Regions from separate parts of the Homo sapiens genome. Here regions 1, 2 and 4 are each linked to region 3. Evidence: promoter capture Hi-C in human tissues and cell types (Jung and others, 2019). All regions are on one chromosome and are shown on one strand. The core of a region is centred on a gene start or on the middle of the fragment in contact, and the rest is flanking DNA. Distances in the headings are between cores, read along the strand shown. Region 1 has its middle 43 kb from the start of LYZL1. Region 2 has its middle 60 kb from the start of SVIL-AS1. Region 3 holds the start of LYZL1 (lysozyme like 1). Region 4 has its middle 40 kb from the start of LYZL1.

Evidence for each region. Contacts are between HindIII fragments. The study calls those that stand out against the background at their distance.
Region 1: a fragment that was not itself captured here is called in contact with the fragment with the promoter of LYZL1 in region 3 in 1 of the 25 tissues and cell types used here (thymus).
Region 2: a fragment that was not itself captured here is called in contact with the fragment with the promoter of LYZL1 in region 3 in 3 of the 25 tissues and cell types used here (mesenchymal stem cells, ovary and thymus).
Region 4: a contact is called between a fragment that was not itself captured here and the fragment with the promoter of LYZL1 in region 3, in 4 of the 25 tissues and cell types used here (mesenchymal stem cells, mesendoderm cells, spleen and 1 more).

Annotation. Positions count from the first base shown.
Region 1 is chr10:29,244,234-29,247,060 of GRCh38, forward strand. No RefSeq gene overlaps it. Among named protein-coding and RNA genes, the nearest start is that of LYZL1, 43 kb to the right of the region's middle. The HindIII fragment of the contact is 3,022 bases long and covers 1-2,827 here.
Region 2 is chr10:29,348,312-29,351,046 of GRCh38, forward strand. No RefSeq gene overlaps it. Among named protein-coding and RNA genes, the nearest start is that of SVIL-AS1, 60 kb to the right of the region's middle. The HindIII fragment of the contact is 9,519 bases long and covers 1-2,735 here.
Region 3 is chr10:29,287,719-29,290,418 of GRCh38, forward strand. It overlaps LYZL1 (lysozyme like 1), which reads left to right and starts at 1,352. Exons shown (of 5, transcript NM_032517.6): 1 at 1,352-1,512. The HindIII fragment of the contact is 13,518 bases long and covers 1-2,700 here.
Region 4 is chr10:29,327,672-29,330,371 of GRCh38, forward strand. No RefSeq gene overlaps it. Among named protein-coding and RNA genes, the nearest start is that of LYZL1, 40 kb to the left of the region's middle. The HindIII fragment of the contact is 5,763 bases long and covers 1-2,700 here.

The DNA.
Region 1 (2,827 bases), core at 85-2,584, 44 kb before region 3:
AGGCCAGGCTGGTGGACACATTGGGGCTGCCTGGAGGCTGGAGGGAGAAAAAGTCTGAGAACTCCCCAGTGTAACGAAGAAGACTGGTGGTGGAAATGCTGCCTGCCTGGGCTGGGAGGGAGGAAGGAGTTTCCCTCTACCGCCCTAGTGTTCCTATCTGCCTTGCGTGCTAGAAACCCAACTAGGCTTTACTATACCTGTTTGTATCACAGAATTTCTGTCCAAAAAGATTTGAATCTATGATCAACATGAACCAATTCAGAGGTCAGAAAAGTAGTATTTTGTTCACCTCTATTAAAGTTTCCCTATTTCCAATCAAGACTCATTTAAAAATCCTACGTTTAACAGATTTTGAAATATGGCAGAACTTGAAGCCTAGCCCTTTGCAGGACTAATTCATACCAGTAAAGAAAATAATGTTAGTAAGTAGGTGCTTGTCATTGAAGCTGTTATTCACATTTTTCCCCCTGGGGGGGAAAAAAAAGAGTCAGGCTTTCAGCTACCTCTATTAAATTAGCCATCATCATAAGCATTATTTAGTGATTTTCCTCCATGGGTGCAAGGCACTCCACTAGGCAAAGTCGCTTTCTAGTAAAACTCTCATAATGTCCTCTGAGATAAGTATTGTACCTATTTTGTTTGTAATCAGTGAACTTCAGAACCTCATAGAAGCTAGATGATGTGCCTGAGATACCATTGGTAAATGGGTGAGCACTTTATTTCTACGTCTTGTCTATTGGATATGGAGGCAGATTTCAGGACTTGAAAGGAAGGAAAGGGGATTTCTGCAGGGTCTGCTTAACTAAACGGATTCATAAGCGAGATGTTGGTGGTGCTATTTCGTGATGAACCAGGTTGGAATCTCCTCAGAATTTCCTGAGAACAGCAATGGTAGAGATTTCCCAGCACACAAGATGGCGGGCGATGGAGACATGGAGAGCGTCAGCACACACTGGACAGGAGCAGAGAGAGGAGAGGAAGGGATGAGGATGACACACTGTGATCCAGGCATGTGTTTTTCTCAGCTCTCGTTTATAAGACTGTGTGGAACCCCTCATTAATAAATATTAAGATGGTACATGTCCATTTAATAAATGTTAATAACTCATCAGGTTTGCATTTTAAACCTCATGCCTCTAACAAATTGAACTAAAATAATTTAATTTAGTGGAGAGAACAGTAGATGGAGGGAAATGTGTTCTGAAGCCTCATTTTGGGTTTTCTTTCCCCAAAAGGGCATCCGGCCAGAATGAACTTCAAATATGAAGAAATTCCACAAATAATGCATTTTCTGTTCTTACCTCCATGCCCTTATTGAAAACACCATTCACTGTTCTTCCAGTAAGTTCCTTCGTTCAACAATCGGGCCACTGTCCCAGAGACTTGGCAAGGGCCTTTGACATCACCAACAGCAAGGGAAATGTTTTAACAGCTCCGTTAATACGGCAACAGAGGTTTATTGTTATCAAACAGACCCGTTAAGCCAAGCCACTGCGACTCCCACGGGCCCACCTGCTCTGCTTGGAAGACCCAAAGACTGACAGGGCCAAGTCTCTGCAAGGCTAAGGATTAGTTTCGTCCTTACGCGGGAGAGCAGGGACCACAGAGTGCAGAGATTTAGAGGCGAGAACTAGATTTGAGTCCAGAATCTGTGGATCTGTCACCTGTGGCAAATTGCTTCATATTTTTAAAGCTTCATGCACTTAGCACTTTGCCTGTTACACAGTAAACACGTAATAAATAGTAGTAGTTTTTACAAAAAATTTTAGAATTTGAGTTATTTTATGTATTTATTTTATGTGTTTACCATTATATATGCATCTTTATATATTTATAAATAAATTTACTTATGTATTTATAAATGTATAAAATATAGTTACACTTAAAATATTGTATATTGAAATAGTAAATATATTTTATATACTTATAAATAAATTATTTTATATATGCATACCTTTAAAATAAATCTTAAAAGTAGAGTTTGATAAATTTCTACACATATGAAGGTCACCCAGATCAAAATATAAAACATTCCAGCCAGACATGGTGCCTCACATTTGTGATTCCAGCACTTTGAGAGGCTAAGGTGGGAGGATCAGTTAAGGCCAGGAGTTCAAGACAAGCCTGGGCAACACAGCAAGATCCCATCTCTACAAAAAATTTAAAAAGTTAGTCAAGTGTGGTGATATGTGTCTCTAGTCCCAGTTGCTCAGGAAGCTGAAATGGAAGGGTTACTTGAGTCCAAGAATTTGAGGCTGCAGTGAGCTATGATTACACCATGGCACTACAGTTTGGTAACATAGCAAGAACCTGTCTCTAAATATATAATAATAAATATAAGTATATATTATATAAATAACCATATATAAATATATAAACATATACATCATGAACAATTAAATATAAATATATTTATATTTACTTACATTTATAAATATATTACTATAATATTTATAATATAAATATCTAAAATAATATAATATATAGATATATTTATTATATATATGTGTGTATAAATTTAGAGATGGGGTCTTGCTATGTTGCCCAGGCTGGAGCGTGGTATATATTATATATGTATAACATTTCCAGCACCCTAGGGCTCTATCATGCTGCTTCCTCATTATACCTGCCCCTCTTCCGAGAAAACAGTTTTCCTGATGTCTATCACCGTACATACATTTTGACTGTATATGTTCTCTGTCGTGTCTGGTTTCTTTCACTCAGTATTATGTCACAGTCTGTGTTGTTTTGTCTATCAGTGGGCTATTCTCTTTTACTGAACAGCATTCTGTCGTGTGGATACACCACAATTGATTTCTCCACTTCA
Region 2 (2,735 bases), core at 199-2,698, 61 kb after region 3:
CCTAGGGGTTCTCTAGCAGAAAATTTTCCGTGAGAGCGTCAATATCATCCTTCAATTCCTTCTTTGTTCCGTGGCTCTTCCTCATAGCAATGCTTCCTTCTTATCTACTCATCAGGCTAGCCTAGTTTTCATTCATTCATTCATTCTTCACTAGCTGTGATAGTTACTGAGTGACTATGACAGACAAGGTCCCTGCTCTTATAGAATTTACATTCTAGCAGAGCAGAGCAATCTAGCAATAAAACAAAAATTAATTATCAGGAGGCTCTTTGGGGTTTACCACAGTGGGAAGAGAAAGTGATTTAACTGACCCCAGAAAAAAAATATAACCCCTTAAGCATAAATGGTATAAGATGTAGAGGAACATGCAGGGTCCTGCTTTTACTAGGAAGCCAAGTGCCGGTCGTGCGGTGCCTTGCGAGGTCGTTCTTGGTCTGTAGAGTGGCTCTGTGCTGATGGGTCTACTTGTGCTCCATTCTCAGGCCCACTAAGTGACTTCTTTCCAGACAAGGACTTGTTTATATCTGAGGAATCTACTTCCATAATACGAAAGCTGGGGAGCTCACCACAGGAAGTTTCAGGATGCAAACCCAGGAAGAGAAGGGTGGACGCTCAGACCCCATCTGTTTGCACCAAGACATCTTTGCCAGCAGCCTTCACTTTCCTCGCCTTGGACCTTGGCCACATTATTGATTTCACAAGGTCTCAGGCTCCACCGACAGCCATTCAGAAGAAGGCCAGAGTGCATGTGGAATCACCGCTTTGCCACATGATGATCTGCTTAAGACAAAGTCTACACTGCAGTAGAGCCAGGCAGGAGTTTAAGACCAGCCTGGCCAACATGGTGAAACCCCATCTCTACTAAAAGTATAAAAATTAATTGGGTGTGGTGGTGGGCACCTGTAATCCCAGCTATTCAGGAGGCTGAGGCAGGAGAATCGCTTGAACCCAGGAGGTGGAGCTTGCAGTGAGCCAAGATCATGCCACTGCATTCCAGCCTGGGCAACAGAGTGAGACTCTGTCTCAGAAAAAAAATACACAAAATATATGAACAAGTTAATTTTTAATTGCTTTTATAAAAATGAGGTCTCACTATGTTGCCCAGGCTGTTCTCAAACTCCTGGCCTCAAGCAATCCTCCCTGCCCTGGCCTCCCAAAGTGCTGGAATAACAGGCATGAGCCACCATGCCTAGCCAAGTCAATTTACTAAAAGTCAGCTCAGTATATACCCAAAGGAATATAAATCAATCCTTCTAGTATAAAGATACATGCACACATATAGCACTATTTACAATAGCAAAGTCATGGAATCAACCTAAATGCCTATCAGTGATAGACTGGATAAAGAAAATGTGGTACATATACATCATGGAATACTATGCAGCCAAAAAAAGGAATGAGATCATGTTGCAGGGACATGGATGGAGTCGGAAGCCATTATTCTCAGCAAACTAATGCAGGAACAGAAAACCAAACACTGCATGATCTCACTTATAAGTAGGAGCTGATTGATGAGAACACATGGACCTGTGGTGGGGAAAAACACACACTGGGCATCTGTAGGGGCAGGAAGGGAGAGCATCAGGAAGAATAACCAATTGATGCAGGGCTTAATACCTGGATGATGGGATGATCTGTGTAGTAAACCACCATGGCACACATTTACCTGCACACGTACCCCTGAACTTAAAATAAAAATTGGAAGACAAAAAAAGGAACTGATGAATAAGATCAAATAAAATCATTGTTGATTGAAGTTAAAAAAAAAGTCAGCCCAGTAGAAAATGGACAAAATGCTTGAAATGCCACTTCATAAATGAGAGTAATATTCAAATGGCTAGTAAACATATTAAAAATGCTCAATTTTGTTTGTAATCAAGGAAATGCACATTGAAATCATAGAGATGCAATTCCACACTACCAAAATGGCTAAAATTTAAATTAAAATTGCCAAATATTGGCAAGAATATGTAACAACTTGAACACTCCCACACTATTCATTAGAGTGCTAATTGGTACAAACCCTTAGGAAAATGGTTTGGAAATTATTACTAAAGCTAACATATACATACCCTTCGACTCAGCAACTCCACTCTGGGTTTTCATGCCCAACAGAAATGTGTTCACTAATAAACACTTACCTGAATTTTTTTAGGAGTGCTGTTCATTGGAGCTAAAAACTGAAAATTACCCAGGTGCACGGCAATGGTAGCATGAATGAATACATTACGCGATATTCACACAATGGAATACAGGTTGAGTATCCCTTATCCAAGTGCTTGGGACCAGAAATGTTTCAGATTTTTAATTTTTCAGGTCTTGGAATAGTTGCATTAAACTCACTGGTGGAACATGCCAAATCCAAAAATCTGAAATCTCAATCTCAATCTAAATGCTCCAATGAGCATTTCCTTTCAGCATCATGTGGGTGCTCAACAAGTTTCAGATTTTGCAGCATTTTGGACTTCAGATTTTCAGATTTGGGATGTTCAACCTATACTGTACAACAGTGAGAAAGAATCACGTACTCACAAAAATATGGATGAATATGACAGCCATACTATGGAGGAAAAGAAACCAGACATTAAAAGTCTGGTATACACTGCATGATTCCATTTCTATAAAGTACACAAACAGACAGGATAATGATTACCCCACTTAGGATTAGTGCCTGGGAGATAACACAAAAGAGAACTGGTAACATTGTATTTCTTGCTCTGGGTTCTGGTTTTATG
Region 3 (2,700 bases), core at 102-2,601:
TTGTGTACTATTGTAAATGGATTTTTTTTTATTTCAAACTCTTATTTTCTATTCCTAGTATATAAGATTGTAAATGGCTTTTGTATATTTACGTCATATCTGAAAACTTGCTAAGCAAGCATTTTTGAAAAAGAAAAAGACAATCCGTCTCTATTTTCTCACTGGTAAGATCCCTATTTCAAAGCATTTTGAAAAAGATGTTTGAGGGAAAAACCTATACATTTTCTCATATTATAGACTGTTCACAAGAAGTCCACTAATGGCTTCTAAAGATAAAAAAGACCCTCAAGCAGCTTGAAATAACGAAAGTTGAAATTGAAACTCTGCTGAAAAATTATGTTTCATCTCTAATATTGAGAAATATTGAAACATTTGATAACACAGTGTGCTATCTTCCTGATACAAGCCCATGTGAAAGGCAATTTGGCAAATATCTAGCAAAATTACAAAATTATACCCTTTGATCCAGCAAGATATTCTTGTAAAGTTACAAATGACATATGTACAAAATTACTGGTTGTAATATGTTTACAATAGAAGAATAAAATAAGTGTGCATCAATATGAAATTGGCTAAGTATGCTATGTTGTATCTGTATAATGCAATACTATATGAACTTCAAAATAGATTTCAACAAAACCTTTGCATTATTGGCAGATGGAATTTAAGAAAATATAACGATTAGTTAGGTGCAGCCAACAATAAACTTCTACTTAGATCTACATATTCTAATGAGAATTCATTTCAAATGTGTCACTAAATCTGAACATTGAAATAAATAGACCTTGAAAACAGCCCTTTAGTTATTGATTCACAAAGTGTTAAGCCAAATTTTTCAAAAATAATAAAATCATGTTATTACAAAAATATTTTATTAATAATAATTTGACTATAGCAAATGTGCTGTTAATAAATTTTTAATGTTAATTTCACCTCTATGTCATTAATTTTCAAATTTTAGTTTTATGTATGTTGATAATTTATGTAGCATATTAGTACTGAGGTACAGAAGTATGATTTATAACTCAATGTACATCTAAAGAGGATACATGCTTAACTTTCTTTATTAATGGAATTTGTGATAAAGTTTGCAGACGCCTCAGAGAAGAGCTCTCACTTGGACAGGAGGCCCTGGCCAAGTTGTGTAATGAGGAGGGTTGTTGAGGGGAAAAGACAAAAAACAAGAGGTATTAAGCCCCAGAAGACAGTTATCACCTGCCTCAGAACACAAGCATGCAGGATGATACAGCTTTTAGTGCCAAGAAGTAGAATTCTAGCATCTCTAGGTGGTGAGAAACAAAGGATTAAGAATTTTTCTTTCTCTAACACTCTAAAGAAATGTTCTTGAGCTAGGAAAGGATTACTCGCGCCTCGTTAGAATCAGACATGGCTTCAGGGGATGCAGGACGCTCCCCTGAGCTGCCTGTCACCGACTAAGTGGAGCAGTGTTTCTTCCGCAGACTCAACTGAGAAGTCAGCCTCTGGGGCAGGCACCAGGAATCTGCCTTTTCAGTAAGACCTAAATTACTCTTATGAGAACCAGCAATGGCAGGTTCTTGAAGGATGTAGAACATGATGCTTGGGGTTATCATTGCTGCGGGTTTTCTTTGGACTTGTTTGAGATCAGTAAAATTCTAAGGCAGGGGATGGAAACCAACTCTATTTGTAAGCTCTGTATCTTTTTTTCTTTTTTCTTTTCTTTTTTTTTTTTTTTTTTAGACAGGGTCTCTCACTCTGCTGCCCAGGCTGGAGTGCAGTGTCACAATCATGGCTCACTATGGCCTCAAACTCCCAGCCTCAAGTGATCCTCCCACCTCAGCCTCCCCAGTAGCTGGGACCACAGGCACACACCACCATGCCTGGCTAATTTTTGTATATTTTGTAGAGGCAGGGTCTACCTTTGCTGCCCAGGCTAGTCTCAAACTCCTGGCTTCAAGCAATCTGCTCACCTCAGCCTCCCAAAGTGCTTGGATTACAGGTATCACCCACCATGCCTGGCCTTAGCTCTGCATCTTAAACCTCGTTTGTCTGTCCCTCACAGCTTAACACAGTGCTGTACACAGCGGACTGGCATGCTCTCTCTGAAAAGGGCCAGATAATAATATGTTAGGCTTTGTGGTCTATACGGCCTCAAACACAATTACTGAACTCTGCCACTGTAGTTGGAAATCAGCCACCAATGATATATTACCAAATGGGTGTAGCTATGTTTCAATAAAACTTTACATACAAAAGCGGGCCTGGTTTGCCCACGCTTGCTATTCACGTTTGTAATGTACATGCCCCTCATGCAATGCAGTTCCTTACCTTATTGCTTAGTCACCTTAAAGCCCTGCTTGTTACTTGGTGCGGTGGCCTTGCTGATGACTACTTATCCCTGTTTTGGGCCTAGCCTTTCAATGCAGGAATCCAGCCCCAGGGAGAGAAACTAATGACTGGAGAAGTTTCTAGGCAAGTGCAGAAAATGACACGGGATGAACATATGTAAGAACATCAAGTTCAGGATCCCGAGTAGTTGTCAGAAATTTCACTTCACCCCATCCCAGCAAGGCTGTTGTATTTGGGGAAGACATTATTTCAAGAGGGGAAGAGATTGTGGAAAATCAGTAGGCAGCAGGAGACAGCTCTCTTGATCCTACTCCCATTTCAGATGATTCCGCAGGGGTCTCTTTATTGCCCCTCTGCTCCCCCAGGTGCTTT
Region 4 (2,700 bases), core at 51-2,550, 40 kb after region 3:
AACCTCACAGTGAAATGGCCTCACTCTGATTTACACATCATTATTTCTCCAACTGTTGATTTAGTCCAGTCTTCCCTGATGGCATCTTCTAAAGGAAAGCTTCTTCATATTCTTCCCCAGGAGACAGTCAAGGCTGTCCACGGACAAGCGGGTTGAGACAGCATATTCCGTGCTGAATCTGAGGGCATAAGAAATTTGCTTGTGCTTTCTCCTATTTCAGTTCTGTAACCTCCATTCCAATGCAGTCATGTGAATCGTTTGCTTCTTTGGGTTAGTAATAGATGTTGCCGTTTATTGGCCACGTATATACTCAGCCCTCCCCTTATGGAGAGGCAACTGGAGAAACTGAGGTCTTTATCCAATGACCTGCTCCATGCCAGCATTTCTGTAATTGGGGGTTGGGACATCTGAGCTACAGGAACTTCTGAGAGTCCTAAGGCGGTGAGATATTGCTATAGTGACCACCAACATCAATGTTTGAAACATTTATAAAATAATAATAGTAGCTACATATAACTAAGAACTCACTATACCAGGAATCTTTCATACATTACCTTTATTTCTCAGACAACTCACCCTACATAGGAGGAGTCTAAGGCTGTAGACATTCAGGAAGCTTGGAAAGACCTTGCAGGTGGTAAAGGGCAGAACCAGAACTTGCATCCATGTATCCTTTTGACTTTGAAGCCTGTTTTTCCCTGGACCTCAGGGATGAGATAAGATGCCCAGCATCTATCCACTTCTTCACGCCTCCTCACACTCTTCCTTTTCTTATTCTTCAGCTCAAAGATCTGAGGTAGTATCAAGAGAGGACCATCCCTGGTGGGGGTCAGTGGCTCATATCTATAATCACAACACTTTGGGAGGTTGAAGCAGGAGGATTGCTTGAAGCCAAGAGTTCAAGACCAGACTGGGTAACATAGCAAGATCTCCTTCTCTATTTAAAAAAAATATATTTTAAAAAAGACAGCTGGGAACAGTGGCTCACGCCTGTGATCACAGCACTTTGGGAGGCCGAAGCAGGCAGATCACCTGAGGTCAGGAGTTCAAGACCAGCCTGATCAACATGGTGAAACCCCGTCTCTACAAAAATACAAAAAATAGCCAGGCATGATGGCAGATGCCTTTAATCCTACTTACTCAGGAGCCTGAGGCAGGAGAATCACTTAAACCTAGGAGGCAGAGGTTGCAGTGAGCCAAGATCGCGCCATTGTCCTCCAGCCTGGGTGACAGAGTGAGACTTCTTTTCAAAAAAAAAAAAAAAAAAGAGGGAACCATCCCTGAAAGTCTTCAAACAGTTGGTTAGCAGCTGTGAAACTTATGTGACTCCACCTTAAAATGAGGTGGTTTGTTTGATGTCTACCATTCGTACTGAAGGATAATTTGGAATATGGATAATCATAATATTTCTTATGGAAGCAGTCATGACCTAAAACTCTGGCAACTGCCATTGCCCTGGCGTGCTTTCCAAATGAGAACAGAGAAGATGCCTGGGATGACTTCCCACATTCCTGAGTGAGCTGCATGCTCGTGGTCTACTGCTTACCCCAGGTCATCTCTGCAGCAGCTCAGCAGCACCTTCCATCTACTGCCCCAAACATCACCCACATTTTGGTCTCCCCCACCTCCTCCCATTTTTGCAAAGCCAATTGGCTCTCATTATTCTGAACCAATCTTGCCTAGCTGTGTAACCACCACTTGAGAGAAAGTTAATTTTATACTCAGTGCATTTACTTCTATTTGAAATAGATATTAAGGGCGCTCTGCTTTCTAAATTCTCCCCAAGTGAAACAGAGCTCTCTATGAGGCCCCTGAGAACAACAGAGCATTAACACAATTCCTGCCCTGAAGACGTTGTGTCTCCTCTTAGGTCAAGAGCCAATAAGCACATAATTGGCCCTTAATTGTATGAACTGTATTCCCGGTGCTTTTCACAGCACATGGCATTGCGTAAGGGTCAACATGGCTTGCTGATTTATGTGTTGATCTCTCTCTCTCTCTGTGTGTGTGTGTGTGTGCGTGTGTGTGTGTGTGTGTGTGTGTGAAGAGAGAGAAGGGGATTTGGCAGTGATGGGAGGCCACAGCAAGGGGGGCACCAAGAATTAGATAACTCCTATAATCAGTGTTGTTTACTATTCATTAGCAAGAGAAAATACAATTGCAAGAAAATCCATTTATGATTATAGAGGAGAATGGAACTATGCATTCCAGATTTTTTTCCAACAAAACATTCAGACACAACTTACATTCACACTTTTCCCCTAGAAGTAATAATTAGCAAACAGCTGTCAGAAGGTTTGTTGACAACCTTTCTAATGTCAATGTCTTTCAAAAGACCCACTTCTTTGCAATGCCTCCACCCACCGGCTGGCTGAGGTCAAAGGAACATGGAGTGCGCGTGTGTATCTATGCCTGTCTGTATTTTCCACCATATTCTTCTTTCTCTTTCTCCCTCTTCCTTCCCCTCTTATTATTGTAGCATCCAGGTTTTGTCAATTATCAAACACTCAAACACTACATACACACATCCTTACATAAAATAATTCAATGAAGTGAAAAGAAAGTCCCATATCTTCCTCTCTGTTAGCACCATGGGTTAATGGAATGAACACTGAACTTCGGAATCAGAGACTTGGTTTCAAGTTCTAGATTCATTCACTTGCTAACTGTGTGATGGAAATTAGTTTAATCTCTGCAGTT